Regions from separate parts of the Homo sapiens genome. Here region 2 is linked to region 1. The links are contacts of gene promoters, found by promoter capture Hi-C in blood cells and fetal thymus (Javierre and others, 2016). All regions are on one chromosome and are shown on one strand. Each heading gives the region's core, a stretch centred on a gene start or on the middle of the fragment in contact. The rest is flanking DNA. Distances are from core to core; before and after follow the strand shown.

The links. Contacts are between HindIII fragments. The CHiCAGO score rates a contact against its expected background, and 5 or more counts as called.
Region 2: a contact is called between a fragment that was not itself captured here and the fragment with the promoter of NIPAL4 in region 1, in 1 of 17 cell types (activated CD4 T cells). The highest score is 6.8, in activated CD4 T cells.

What each region holds. Positions count from the first base shown.
Region 1 is chr5:157,455,731-157,462,325 of GRCh38, forward strand. NIPAL4 (NIPA like domain containing 4) reads left to right here and starts at 4,483. Exons shown (of 6, transcript NM_001099287.2): 1 at 4,483-4,627. The coding sequence starts at 4,591. NIPAL4-DT (NIPAL4 divergent transcript) reads right to left here and starts at 4,370. Exons shown (of 3, transcript NR_136205.1): 1 at 4,278-4,370. RefSeq lists a silencer at 4,377-4,536. The HindIII fragment of the contact is 3,531 bases long and covers 1,889-5,419 here.
Region 2 is chr5:157,655,690-157,662,284 of GRCh38, forward strand. It overlaps LOC105377675 (a long non-coding RNA gene), which reads left to right. Exons shown (of 3, transcript XR_941127.3): 2 at 2,162-2,322; 3 at 2,840-6,348. It also overlaps a transcript of SOX30 not described here. Among named protein-coding and RNA genes, the nearest start is that of SOX30, 6.5 kb to the left of the region's middle. The HindIII fragment of the contact is 8,214 bases long and covers 1-6,595 here.

The DNA.
Region 1 (6,595 bases), core at 3,233-5,732:
TACATATGTAATTTTAAACAGTTTAGTAGCCACTTTATAAAGAGTGAAAAGAATAGGAAAAATAATTTAATAATGTTTTTACTTAGCCCAATGCATCCAAAATATTATCATTTTAACATGTAATCAATATTTAAAAATCATTAATGAGATTTTCCTTTTTTTTCCTTACTAAGTTTTTGAAATCTGAGTGGTTCTCAACCCAGAGTGATTTTGGCAATTGTCTGGGGGTGTTTTTGATTGTCAAAACTGGGGTGGGTGTCGGGGTGCAGGGGTGTGTGTGCCGCTGGCATCCAGAGGGTAGAGGCCAGGGGTGCTGCTAAACATTCTACGAGCACAGGACAGCCTCCAGCAACAAAGAACGATCTAGTCCAAAATGCTAACTGAGCCTGTTTTCTACTTATAGCACATCACGATTCAGATTAGCGGCTCATCAAGTTCTCAAAAGCCACATGCAGCTGGTAGCTGCCATATTGGACGGCACAGCTCTGTAACCTAAAACATCTGGACATGCACTTGGAAAAGTCAAGTTTTTAAAAACTTGGGTTTTGGTGAATTTGTTTTCCTACTCATCCCAGAATAACTGACCGAAAGAGCTGCGGCTGGGTCACCAGTCGCTGGCTGGCTAAGGGCAGAACCCATCTGTCCCTGGCTTGTTAGACCCTTCGTAAGCCACCCACCCTCCTCAGGGAGACTGAGCCTGGAACAGACAGTGAACCCTGTTGTTCTTTTCTGGGGAGACAAAGCTGCAGGCCCTGCTACCTGCCTGACAGGGCCATTGTGGCTAGAGGAGAAAAGGGCTTTGTCAGGAAGCAGCCGAGAAGACTGCAGTTCAATGGGGCCCTTTATGTCTACACTGGCAAGATGCTCTGATGCCAGCCCTGTTGAGGCCCAGCCCCCTTTTAGAACAGATGGGGAGCCTGAGGCCCAGTGAGGTTGTGAAAGTCCCTGCAGTGGATCCTAGCCTCCTTCCCCTCATGCCACTGCCCTAAAACATGAGATTCTCCTGACTCTGAAAAGGCCGGTCTTGAAGCATAGGATAAACTCAATATTGCCCTTAACCCCTGACAAGGAGGCCCCTTCCCTGACCCTAAAATTTAGAGGTTCCACAAATCACAAACACATACAAAAATAAATGCATTAAAGAACATATATGTGCATCTGTCTCTCAGGATCTGGGCTTAGCTCTGGCAACTACAATCTGAAACATCCTCTCTTGTGATTCAAAAAGGCCACTAAGAGAAGCCACTATTTAAAGTGTTCTCAACATACACGCATGTATGCACACACACGCACAATATAACTAAGTGAGGTGATAGATGTATTAATTAGCTTAATCGTCGTTATCATTCACGATGTACACCTATATCAAATCATTATGTTGTACATTTTAAATATATATAACTTTCATTTGTCAGTCATACTTCAATAAAGCGAGGAAGAAAAAAGGTCAGACCAGAGGGAAATACTCCGAATCTCTCACCCTATGTTCTTGGAATAAAAGCAGTCAAGTTTGAATGCAGTGAGGGTTTGAGGACTGTACCACTCCAGGTTCAGTGCTGACTCCGTTTTATAGCACAAGGAGGAGCTGAACAGCAGAAATGCTTAGAGAAGAGAAAGATAAGTTGAATTCTCTTGTCAAATTCTCCCTTGCAGGTAGCATGGATGCATATATTTTTTCATCATGAAGTCTCACTTCCGAATAGGGCCAATCATCTAGTGTCTTGCTGCTCTGTGTTCAAATTCATATAGTCTTGGAGGTGTTCCCCTCTACCTGAACGGTGGTACCACACACCTCCAAAGTTAGAGGCGGGCCTGGGCACACTCACCTGCAGACTTGGATATATTCTGTTGGCAATGGCTATGACTTCTGTCAACTAAAAGAAAATCAAGCTTTTAAGGAATTAAAGTTAGTTTTATTCAGAAGTCTTACTGAGGTTCTGTAATCCCAGCATTTTGGGAGGCCGGGGCAGGTGGAACACCTGAAGTCAGGAGTTTGAGATCAGCCTGGCTAACATGGTGAAACACTGTCTCTACTAAAAATACAAAAATTAGCTGGGCGTGGTGGTGGGCGCCTGTAATCCCAGCTACTCCGGAAGCTGAGGTGGGAGAATCGCTTGAACATGGGAGGCGGAGCTTGCAGTGAGCCGAGGTCGAGCCACTGCACTCCAGCCTGGGCAACAGAGTGAGACTCTGTCTCAAAAAAAAAAAAAAAAAAAAAAGCAGAAGTCTTACTGAGGACTAGAGACTGAAGACAAAGTCTGGGAGGAGTCTTTCAGAGAGGTCCTGTCCCACTGCTCTGAAACAGTGTTTTAGCTCATAGCTGATATACACGTAGCAGAAGTGCAGTATGTGCTCAAACATTACATCAAACTTGCTCAGAAGTTACAGTAAAGCAGAATCACATGAAAGTCTGGGTGCAAGAGTATATCTGGTTATAGATGATAGAGGCATAGTCACTAACCTTGTCAAACATTATCCTATGTGTAGGAATAGGCAAGGTCTAGGGTCATTTATCTTTTAAGAAATATAGTGTCTCAGGCAAAAGTTGTGGGGGCCTTGTGCTGTATCCTGCTTTGTTTTCAAAGCATTTTTCCAGAGAGGTGCACATCATTACAGAATCAAGGGCTTGTGAAATTATGCAGCAAGTAAAATGAGCAAACGTGGCTTGTTACATTTGCTGTGTCTCACATTTCCCTTTCTCTTTTAACCTCTCCCTTCCCCAACCCGATCCCGACCCCTTGGAGAAGGGGCTGTTGCATTTGACAAAGAAATTGATCCTTATGTAGAGTAAGCAACTTGTTTAAAGTCATCCAGCAAATTAGAGGAAGCCCCATGCTGGGAGAACCCATCCTTAGAGGCCCAGCTAGAGGTCCGCAAGTAGACAGTGGAGGGTCGTAGGTAGGAGGACAGGCTTGGGGTCAGAGCAGCTCGGTTTACACCTGGCACCCTCGTTCACTAGCTGTGCAACCTTGGGAGCAAGTGTCTCAGAGTATTTAAAGGACAGTTTTTTCTATTCCTATACAAGATGTTAACATTAAGGGAAGCTGGTGACAGGTATATGGGAACTCTCTATACTATTTTCGTAACTCTTCTATAAGTCTAAAATTATCTCATGATAAAATTTTTAAAAATAACAGTTTCCTCTTATCTGTAGCATGGAAAGAGTAAGGATATCTGTCTCCTAGGAGGCTTCGATGAGACAGTGCCTGGAAAGGGGTTAGCACAGTGTCTGGCCCATGCTGACGACTCCATACATAACAATTCTTAAAAGCTGCCTCCTCCAGGAAGCCGGTGAGCACCACTGGCAGAACCAATCACTGCTTTCTCAGTAGCCCCACACCCTCACTGCCCAGGAGCAGTTTATTTCAGTGTAAAATGCCAGGCGGCTTAATGTGACCACTGACAGCACGAGTTTGATCCTGGCTTTTCTGCTTCTCAGCTGAGATCCCCAGCAAGTTACTTGAGCACTTTGTGCCTCAGTTTCCTTTTGGTAAATAATAAAAGTCTGTACATTATAAGGCGGTCATGAAGATTAAATGAACTGGAATTTTTCAGCACTTAGAACTCTGCCTGGCCTATAGCAAACTCTACATACCTATTTTTATGCTCCAGGTCAGTGGTTTTCTAACTTGCTTTTTACTGTTACCCATAGTAACAAATATGCTTTCCATCACAACGTGTGTATGTGTGTGTGTGTATAAATAATTTTAAAGTGGTAATTTCAAAAACATTGGTCTCTAAGAGATGATCACATTTTGTTTCCCCCATTAAAATATAAGGTACTTGGGGGACAGGGAATAGTCTGACTCATTTTGGTCTCCAATCACTTCATTTCCTTCTTTCATTTAATTTACCAAGCTCCTATTATCTATTCATTAGACATAAATATATATTGAGCATTAACTCACTATGTACCTGTTACCTACCAGCACAGATCAGACCTGGGTTGAATCAATGAACGGGTAAGGCAAGGAAAGGAGGTCGCAGGGCAGAAGGCAGGGAGGAAGGGCAGGAGGGTGAAATGGAAGGAAGGGAGGAAAGGTGGAGGGGAGGAAGGAGAGGGGGAGGGTAGGAGGGCGAGAAGGAAGGAAAAGAAGGAACCCAGGTTCCCAATTGGCAGCAGTACCCACTTCCAACCCCTATGTTGCCACTTCCACCTCGGCAGGAAAGTTGCCCCTTCTCCAGCCATCTAGGTCCCCTGTACTCTTTCCCTGGGGATGGAGCTGGGTGCCGGTGCAGGCATCGGAGGAGCGGTGCCGGGGAACCCGCCTCCTCACCTCTTGCCCCTAGCACGGGGCGGTGACTCCAGAGCTGGGAGCCTGGCAGCGTCCTCACCCCAGGAAGGCATGCGCCCCTCTGCGGGCGGCCCCAGCCCTGGGCCCCCTGCCCCCGGAATTGCCCAAGATGCCGGGTGACTCCTCCCCGGGGACTCTCCCACTCTGGGACGCGTCACTCTCCCCACCCCTGGGTCCGGACCCCGGCGGCTTCTCGCGCGCGAGCCACGCGGGGGACAAGTCGCGGCCACCTGCTCCGGAGCTGGGGAGCCCGGGCGCCGTCCGCCCGCGCGTCGGTTCGTGTGCCCCGGGCCCCATGGAGCTGCGGGTCAGCAACACCAGCTGCGAGAACGGTGCGTACGGCAGGGCTGGGGACCAGGCGGGCTCCGCGCTTCGCGCCCTCCCCTCCTTGCCACCGCTCTCCCTCGCATCCTCTCCTCCCAGGGGGGCCAAAGCTGGGGAGGGGCAGGGCCAGCACGAGGTGGCTCCCACCCAGCTTTGAAGATCTGGGTTCTGGCTGAGACTTCACTTTCATCTTCGCAGCTGGGATGGCTGAGAGGAGTCAGGGAAGGAAAGTATGTCCCCTGGGTTGAGATGGGGGGTTAGTGGGGGGCAGGCATTTTGACGACAGCAGACACCCTGAGAGGTGGTGGGGGCGGGGGGAGGATTCTGTGTTTTTAATGTGTAGTTGCTTCAGGTTTTAGTACCTGCGCAGTTTGGGCTTTCTCTCTGGGTCAATGGGAGGACCATCACAGGACGGTCTTGTCTTTGGAAAAGAAAAAGAACCACAGGAAGGGGTAAAGAAAGACCCCTGACTTCCTATTGCGTTCTGACCATAAAGCAGGTAGTGGACTAGGCCCTTTACCCGCATTATCTCACTGAATCCTTAAAACAACTCTAGAAGGTAGGTAGGTATTATTATTTTACTATCTTGCTATCCCCACTCTAAAGATCCAGAAACTGAGGCTCTGAGCAGCTAATAATTTGCTCAAGGTAATACAGTGAGGAAATGGAATATAGATCCAAGGCTGGTGGACAGTAAAACCTCAACTCCTTCCTTGGTGTGGCTCCACTTTCCTACCTTGTCTTGGAACTGCAGGCTGTGGCATGTCCCTGTTTCTCTAACCTCTTCCCTTCTACAGTGAAGCTTTCAAAGCCAGCCTGTTAGGTGTCTGACTTTGGTTTCCTGAACAAGGCAGGCATTTTCAGCCTCACCTTTTCTCTAGGCCAGAATGTGTTCCCCAGTCCTAGCATATTCTGGAAGAGATAACAGGAATCATCTGGCCCATGCTCAGAATTGGATTACTTTGGCCATCAGCCCTCTGTCTTTTACTTTTCACTGCAGTGGGAGAACTTGACTCAATGGAGGATGCTCAGCCCTTGGGTGTTGCGGGCTTTACTGTGACAGCCAAGTCCATCCACAGAGGGTTCGTTGGCTCCATCTGCTAGAGGTGCACCTTCAGGGAGCAGGGGAAGGGCGTGGGGATGAGTTTGGTCTTCCTCTCAGGAGTCACCTCCCCTAGCCCATGTTCTCCCAGGTTCTGGCTCATTTCCTGGGCTCAGGGAACTCCCCAGATTCAGCTCTTGGGCAAGGAAGCCTGAGCTGGAGAAACAGGAATGAGCAGTGCAGAACAAGTCTGATTAGGGACTGAGATGCCTCTTGTCTCATCTTCCCTTGATTGTGACACGAGTTTTGGAAAGAGAGATATCACACTGCAAAAGACACATGGATGTGCCCCAGTGGGTGCTGGATCCAGATCTTTCACCAGATGTTGGGGTGACTTAAGCAAGCTCTTCCCTTTCTCAGGGCCTCAGTTTCCCCAGAAAAAATAAGAATTTAGACTGCTTTCTAAGGGCTCTTCAAGCTCTGTTATTCATGGGTCTGTGTCGTGGAAGAAAGGTCAACATTGCCTTTAGTCTGTTCCACCAAGATGCCACTCTGCCCTGCAGATGTGCCAGAGCCAGAGTTGCTTGACCATGGACTTTGGGGCCCTTCCAGGCACTGCCTGGGAGTTCTAGGTTGGTGGGAGAAATACTTGGTTGAGGCTTACATCCTTGGCATAGGGACCTGGGCCTTGGTGACACACAGCTTGAAAAAGGCTACCTCCAGAGGTAACAAACTCAGATGCCTACAAAGGCCAAGCACGTGCTAGAAATTACTGAAAGGAGCCAGATAAGACTCTTGGGGAACTGCAGAGAGTATGTCCTATTTTAGGGGGCAACACTGCCCAGCTGCAGCCAGTTGTTGCCTTAGAAGAGGGCCCAATATGGTAAGCAGATCTGATTTTTCACCGTAGCCTCCCATCTGAATTTTCATGGAA
Region 2 (6,595 bases), core at 1,369-3,868, 200 kb after region 1:
TCTGTGGCTTCCCTGAACGCCTGGCCTTCCCCACCTTGCCTCAGGCAATGCTGTCGTCTCTCTCTGTGCAAACTGGTTGTAGGAATGGTAAAAATCACTATTTCTTACAAAGTTTTGATTAATGGAAGAAAGGATTTGTGAGGCTAGTCTTAAGCTGTAGCCAATCTGGTGTGTTTCCTGTGTCATTCTGTATTGTTCTGTCATAAAGAGGGGTACCTTAGGATAGAACATGGGCTTAGGACACCTATAAGCCTGCTGTTCAAGATGGCCCAGCAAACTGGTCAGTTAAAAACTTTGCTGCAGGTCCGTGAAAAAAACTGGATGAGGTTTCCCTCTTGTCTTGTATGTCCTTGGGAGCTTGACCTTGTAACCATGTGGCTGTGCTTTCTCTTTCACAGTGGTGGCCCGGGTTCAGGGTTCAATTCCCATCTTAGGAGATGAGTCCTTTATCTTTTGTCTGTGTATTTATGTGTATCATGTGTGTGGTGCTTGTATATAACAGAGGTTTGATTAATCGGTTAAAAATAATAAGTGCTTCAGTCATATTTTTGTGAGAAAAATTAAACATATAATGCCTTTTATATAGTTCATGTGACTTAAGTAATCTTTGGGAAATGAAGACAGTTTTAAAGATTATTGGTAAAATAAAAATATCTTAAAATGTAAACATTTGGTCTAAATTATGCAGGTCAGATATTAGGTTTGCTAAATGCTTTAAGTTCATAAGCTGCTGCTTTCACTTTTGAAAATTGTTTAATTTACCTACTTTGACCATATTAGAGTCTAGATAAGGCCTGGGGACATGTGATGTTAGCCATACCCCAAGCAATGCTAGAAAAAGTCAGACCTTATCTGCACTTCTGTCTGTGTCCTAGGCTGCACACCTAGTACATAATTAAAATGCTTACCAACCAGGGTTTTCACCAAAAGTAAAAATCGCTGAAAGTTAACATTGTAACATGTAATTGAGACTACTGAAGAATAGTTCTACACATAAGGTGTGTAAGGAAAGTGAAATGTGTTTTTGGTAAAAGATCATTAGAAGTCATGAGAATGTAAATTTTCTTCCTTAGATTAAATGGTTAAATTATTGTTTTAAGTTAGATAGAATGAAGCTGAAGGTTTAAGAAAGTTTTGGAAAGTGTGAAAAATTAATTGTAGGACATTCTGTGTGTGAATATATTAGTTAAAGTTAAAGGGGTATTCAGTTTTTCTATAAATTAAACATTGGAATAAAAGCACAAGTTTTTTTAGAGCAAAAACCTGCTATGATTTGCTCTTTAACAAAAATATGTAAAGGGTTATAAAAGGTTTGTGAGAATCTTACCTTATAGTCAAACTGATTAAGATTGAATACATTTGTCTATAAGGTTTTATAAAGAATTGGGTTTGTCATCAATAATGCACTAATGCAAGAGTCACATTTGGCTTATTTGGTACAAAAACCACACAGGAAGCATTATCAAATGTAAAATGGTGTTTGGATTTTTGGGGGCTGTAATTGTATAAATGTATTATTGGTATATATTGAAAATTATTTTTAAAAGTCTTATAATTCTGATATGACTTGGTGTATATTGTGAATAATTATAATTGTTACATAAAATCATTGTATACCACAGAAGGAAGCAAATTTCCTTATCAATTGAGACTTTAATAGTGGCTGTCCTAAGACTTTTTGTCATCCACACACAATTGTTGTCTTTTAATCCTCTTCAAAAGTTGGTTTATAATCAACTGTAGAACTCTAACAGGTGTTCTTAAATGCAGATTTCTGATAACTTTGGAAATTGTGATATTAAAATAAAGGAAAACACTTTCAGAATACTCATGGAGAGCTGAAATGTTCAGGAATATCAAGCAGAACAGAAGTTAACTGCATTGACTGAACTAATAGAAGACTAAAGTAATCATTTTAACTTTGCTTAAAATGCTGCTGATCCTTTGTTTTGTTTTTCAGAGTCAAGGAAACTTATCTTTTGAGCTATTTGCAGCTTGTAGCAATTGAGTAAAGTATATTGCTGTGAATAACATTTGAAGCATATTTAGTTCTCTCTACCTAATTTCTCCAGAATGTGGAAACTATTTGTGAGTATTCTTACATTATGGCAATATAGTTATTTGCATAAGTGCAATAAGAACCTCTTTTCTTTTGCAACAGGACACAATTGGAAACAGTGGTTATTTTACCAACGCTTTGACTGGAATGGCACGTTTTCCTTTAAGGAATCAAACTTGACTTGTAAAGCCAATAAAAGCCCCTTGGGGAATTGGCCTCAGACCTTGTCTACAACAGCCCCTGTACAGGGTTTCTGACCTGTGGTAAGTAAAGAATGTCACTTTCTACAGGTCCAGGATCCCCAGGTTATCTTGGGACCCCAAGAGGAGGGGAATTTACTCATCTCATAGGTATTTGAGGGTACAAACCTATGGCAGGGCTCAGCTCTGAAAAAGTCTTATCTGAGATTCTTTCTATGGAATAAAGTTGCATCAAAACCAATTTAAAAAGTGGTTATGTAAAAAATAATTATTCTCATTGCACTTTATACAACTAATCAGGCCAATTATAGTAAAGCAAATCAGTCTTACCGTGATTTGTCTTTAGTAAAAATGGGAAACTGGAGAGAGAAATTATGTTTCAGAAACTGTGGTACACTTGTTATTAAATTCTAGTCTCATCAGTTGTTTTTAAGTTTGTTTCTGCAATTTAGGCTAACCCTGCTTATTCCTCTGAACCAACTAGTGACATCTGACTGCTGCTCAGAAGAAACAAGAGGGATGGGTAATGTAAAAATCTAAATCAGTATTCTAATTCTGAGCACACTTATGAATCTTCCAGATATCACCTTTTGTCAAAACTCGGAGTTATGAATTGCCCTCGCCATACTGATGCTTTCTGACTGAGCTCCTCTCTACCCTGAATACAAGAGACTCTCATAGTTAAGCAAGAATATCATTGCTCCTATTCAGCATGAAGAAGTTACAGAAGATGGATTTTCAACCCTCTGCAACCCTTAGGATTAAAATTATACAAACCTTTAGGATTATAAAAGGGAGGGGGTAATGTCAGGCGTGTGAACCAGAGCAACTCCATTTTGAGTAGAAGCTGTGTAAAACGAGGCTGAAACCTACTAGGCTGCATTCCCAGACAGTTAAGGCATTCTAAGTCACAGGATGAGATAGGAGGCTGGCATAAAATACAGGTCATAAACAGCTTGCAGATAAAACAGGTTGCAGTAAAGAAGCTGGCTAAAACCCACCAAAACCTAGATGGTGACAAGAGTCACTTCTTATCATCCTCACTGCTACACTCCCACCAGTGCCATGATAGTTTACAGATGCCATGGCAACATCAGGACATTACCCTATATGGTCTAAAAAGGGATGCATGAATAATTCACCCCTTGTTTAGCATATCATCAAGTACTAACCATAAAAATGGGCAACCAGCACTCTGTCTATGGAGTAGCCATTCTTTTATTGCTTTACTTTCTTAAACGTGCTTTCACTTTACTCTGTGGACTCATCCTGAATTCTTTCTTGTGTGAGATCCAAGAACCTTCTCTTGGGTTCTGGACCTGGACCCCTTTCCTGTAACATCTTTCTGGTGACCCAGATGAGCCTATAGTGCAGATATTCCCAGTAAGTGCTAGGATCCTGTAACGTCTTTCTGGTGACCATGGAATGGTCCCACTATACTGTGGAAACCCCCAACTCAAAGGCTAACTTTGGGTAAGTGGTGGGGTCCAATAAGAAAGTTAGTGTTAATTTTGTGCAAGGTTTCAGTTCATATTCTGATTTCAGTTATCAAAATGTAATTGACAATAGATGCATGGGTGTATTTCTGAACTCTCTGTTCTGTTCCTTCCATTCCTTCCATCTATGTACTATAAACCAAAAGTATCTGAGGCAAGCCTTAATCAATTTAGAAGTTTATTTTGCCAAGGTTAAGGACATCCCCGTGACACAGCCTCAAGAAGTCCTGACAACATGTCACCAAGGTGGTCAGGCTACAGCTTGCTTTTATACATTTTAGGGAGACATAGGACATCATTCAATACTGTAAGATGTACATAGCTTCAGTCCAGAGAGGTGTGACAACTCAAATCAGGGCTTCCAGATCACAGGTGGATTCAAAGATTTTCTGAATGGCAATTGGTTGAAAGACTTATCTAAAGACCTAGAATCAACAGAAGGGAGTGTCTGGGTTAAGATATGGGGTTGTGGATACCAAGGTTCTTATTATGCAGATAAAGCCTCCAGATAGTAGGCTTCAGAGAATATCAGACCTAAAAAGTCTATTCTGTCAGTCTGAAAGTCGCTGTTTCTATGTTAATGCTGGTCAGCTGTGCCTGAATTCCAACGGGAGGAATGTTTAATGAGGCATGTCTGACCACCCATTCCCATTGTAGCCTGAGCTAGTGTTTTAGGTTTACTTTAAAATGCCCTAGCCTGGTGCAGTTGTTCATGCCTGCATTCCCAGCACTTTGGAAGGCTGAGGCAAAAGTATTGCTTGAGTCCAAGAATTTTAGACCGACATGGGCAACGTGGCAAAATCTCGTCTCTACAAAACAATACAAAAATTAGCCAGGTGTGATGGCCTGTGCCTGTAGTCCTAGCTACTCGGGAGGCCGAGGCTGGAGAATTGCTTGAGTTCAGGAAGCAGAGGTTGCAGTGAGCTGAGACTGCACCAGTGCACTCCAGCCTGGGCAACAGAGTGAGACTCTGTCTCAAAAATATAAAATAAAATAAAATAAAATAAAGTAAAGTAAAATAAAATAAAATATAAAATAAAATAATAAAATATAAAAAATATACCCTTGGCCAAAAGGAGGGGTCCATTTCATTGGTTGGGGAATTTAGAATTTTATTTTTGGTTTACAGTATCTCTTTTTTTTTCTTTTGTTACAAATGGGGTTCTTACTCTGTTACCCAGGCTGGATTATAGGCATGAGTCACCGTGCCAAGCTATATACATATTTTTATGCCAGTACCACAGTCTTGATTACTCTAGCTTTATGGTAAATTTTGAAATTTTGAAATCATGTAAGTCCTTGAACTTTGTTCTTTCATTAAATCATATTGGCTTTTCTTGGTCCTTTGGATTTAAAAGATAAATTTTAGGTTCATCATATCAATTTCTTTTAAAGCAAACCCTAATGGTATTTAGATAGAAATTATATTGAATCTATGGATCAATTTTGGGAAAACTGACACCTTGATGATACTGTATTTTCCTATTTGCAAACATGGGACATATCTCCATTTATTTAGGTCTTAATTTCCTTTGACAATGTTTTATAATTTTCAGTGTACTGTCCTGTACTTCTTTCATTAACTTTATTTCTAAATCCTTTATTCTTTTTATGCTATTTGTGAATGTAATTTTTTAAAATTTCCTTTGCAGTTGGTTGTATGTTGATTTTTGTATTTTTATTTTCTTACCTTATTGCACTGGCTGGAACTTTTAGTCCAAGGTTAAATAGAAGTGGTGAGAGTGTACATCCTTTTGCCTTGCACCCAGTCTTAGGAAGAAAGCATCCAGTCATTCACCTTTAAGCATGTTGTTAGTCATAGGTTTATGTAGCTGCCTTTTATCAAAGTAAGAAAGTTTCCTTCTATTCCTAGTTTATTGAGAATTCTACCATGAATAGTAGTTCAATTTTATCAAATGCTTTGTCTGTGTCTATTGAGATGATTATATGGCTTTTTCCTTTAAGGGTCAGCAACATTTTCCAGAAAAGGCTATATAGTAAATATTTTTGGTTTTGTGAGCCATATGAGCTCTGTTGCAACCAATCAACTCTGCTTTGTAGCAGAAAGCAATCATAGACAATATGCAAATGAATGGGCTTGGCTTTGTTTCAGTAAACTTTATTTGCAAAAACAAATGTCATGCCAGATTTGGCCCAAGGGCTATAGTTTGCTTTTGGCTATAGTTTGCTGACCACTGATTTATTCTATTAATATATGTATTACATGAATTGATACTCAGATGTTAAGCTAAAGAACATTCCTGTAATAAATCGACCACACTTGGTAATAGTGTATAATCCTTTTTGTACATTACTGGATCTAATTTGTTGTTATTTAAACAATTTTAGCATTTACATTCATGACGAGTGTTGTTCTATAATTTTCTTGTGATATCTTTGTCTGTGGCTTTTAGTATCAGGGTAAAATGAGCTGTAAAGTGTCCCCTTCTATTCTTGAAAAGATTTCCATTGGATTGGTATTATTAATTATTTAAATGTTAATAGAGTTCCCAATAAAACCATGGAGGCCTGGACTTTGCTTTGAAGAAGATTCTAAAATAATTTAATTAAACGCTTTAATGTTTTTCACTGATATATATCTATGCAAATTGTATAATTTCTTTTTGAGTCTACTTTGATCATTTCTGTTAATGAATTTGCCCATTTCATCTAAGTTGACAAATTGTTGGCATAAGGTTGTTCAAAATATTCCTTTATAAGCCTTTTAATTTCCATAGGGTTCAGAATGCTTCCTCTTTTAATCCCAATTTTGGTAATTTCTGTCTTCTCTCTTTTTTTCTTGGTCATTTGACTAAAAAGTTAACAATTTTGTAGATCTT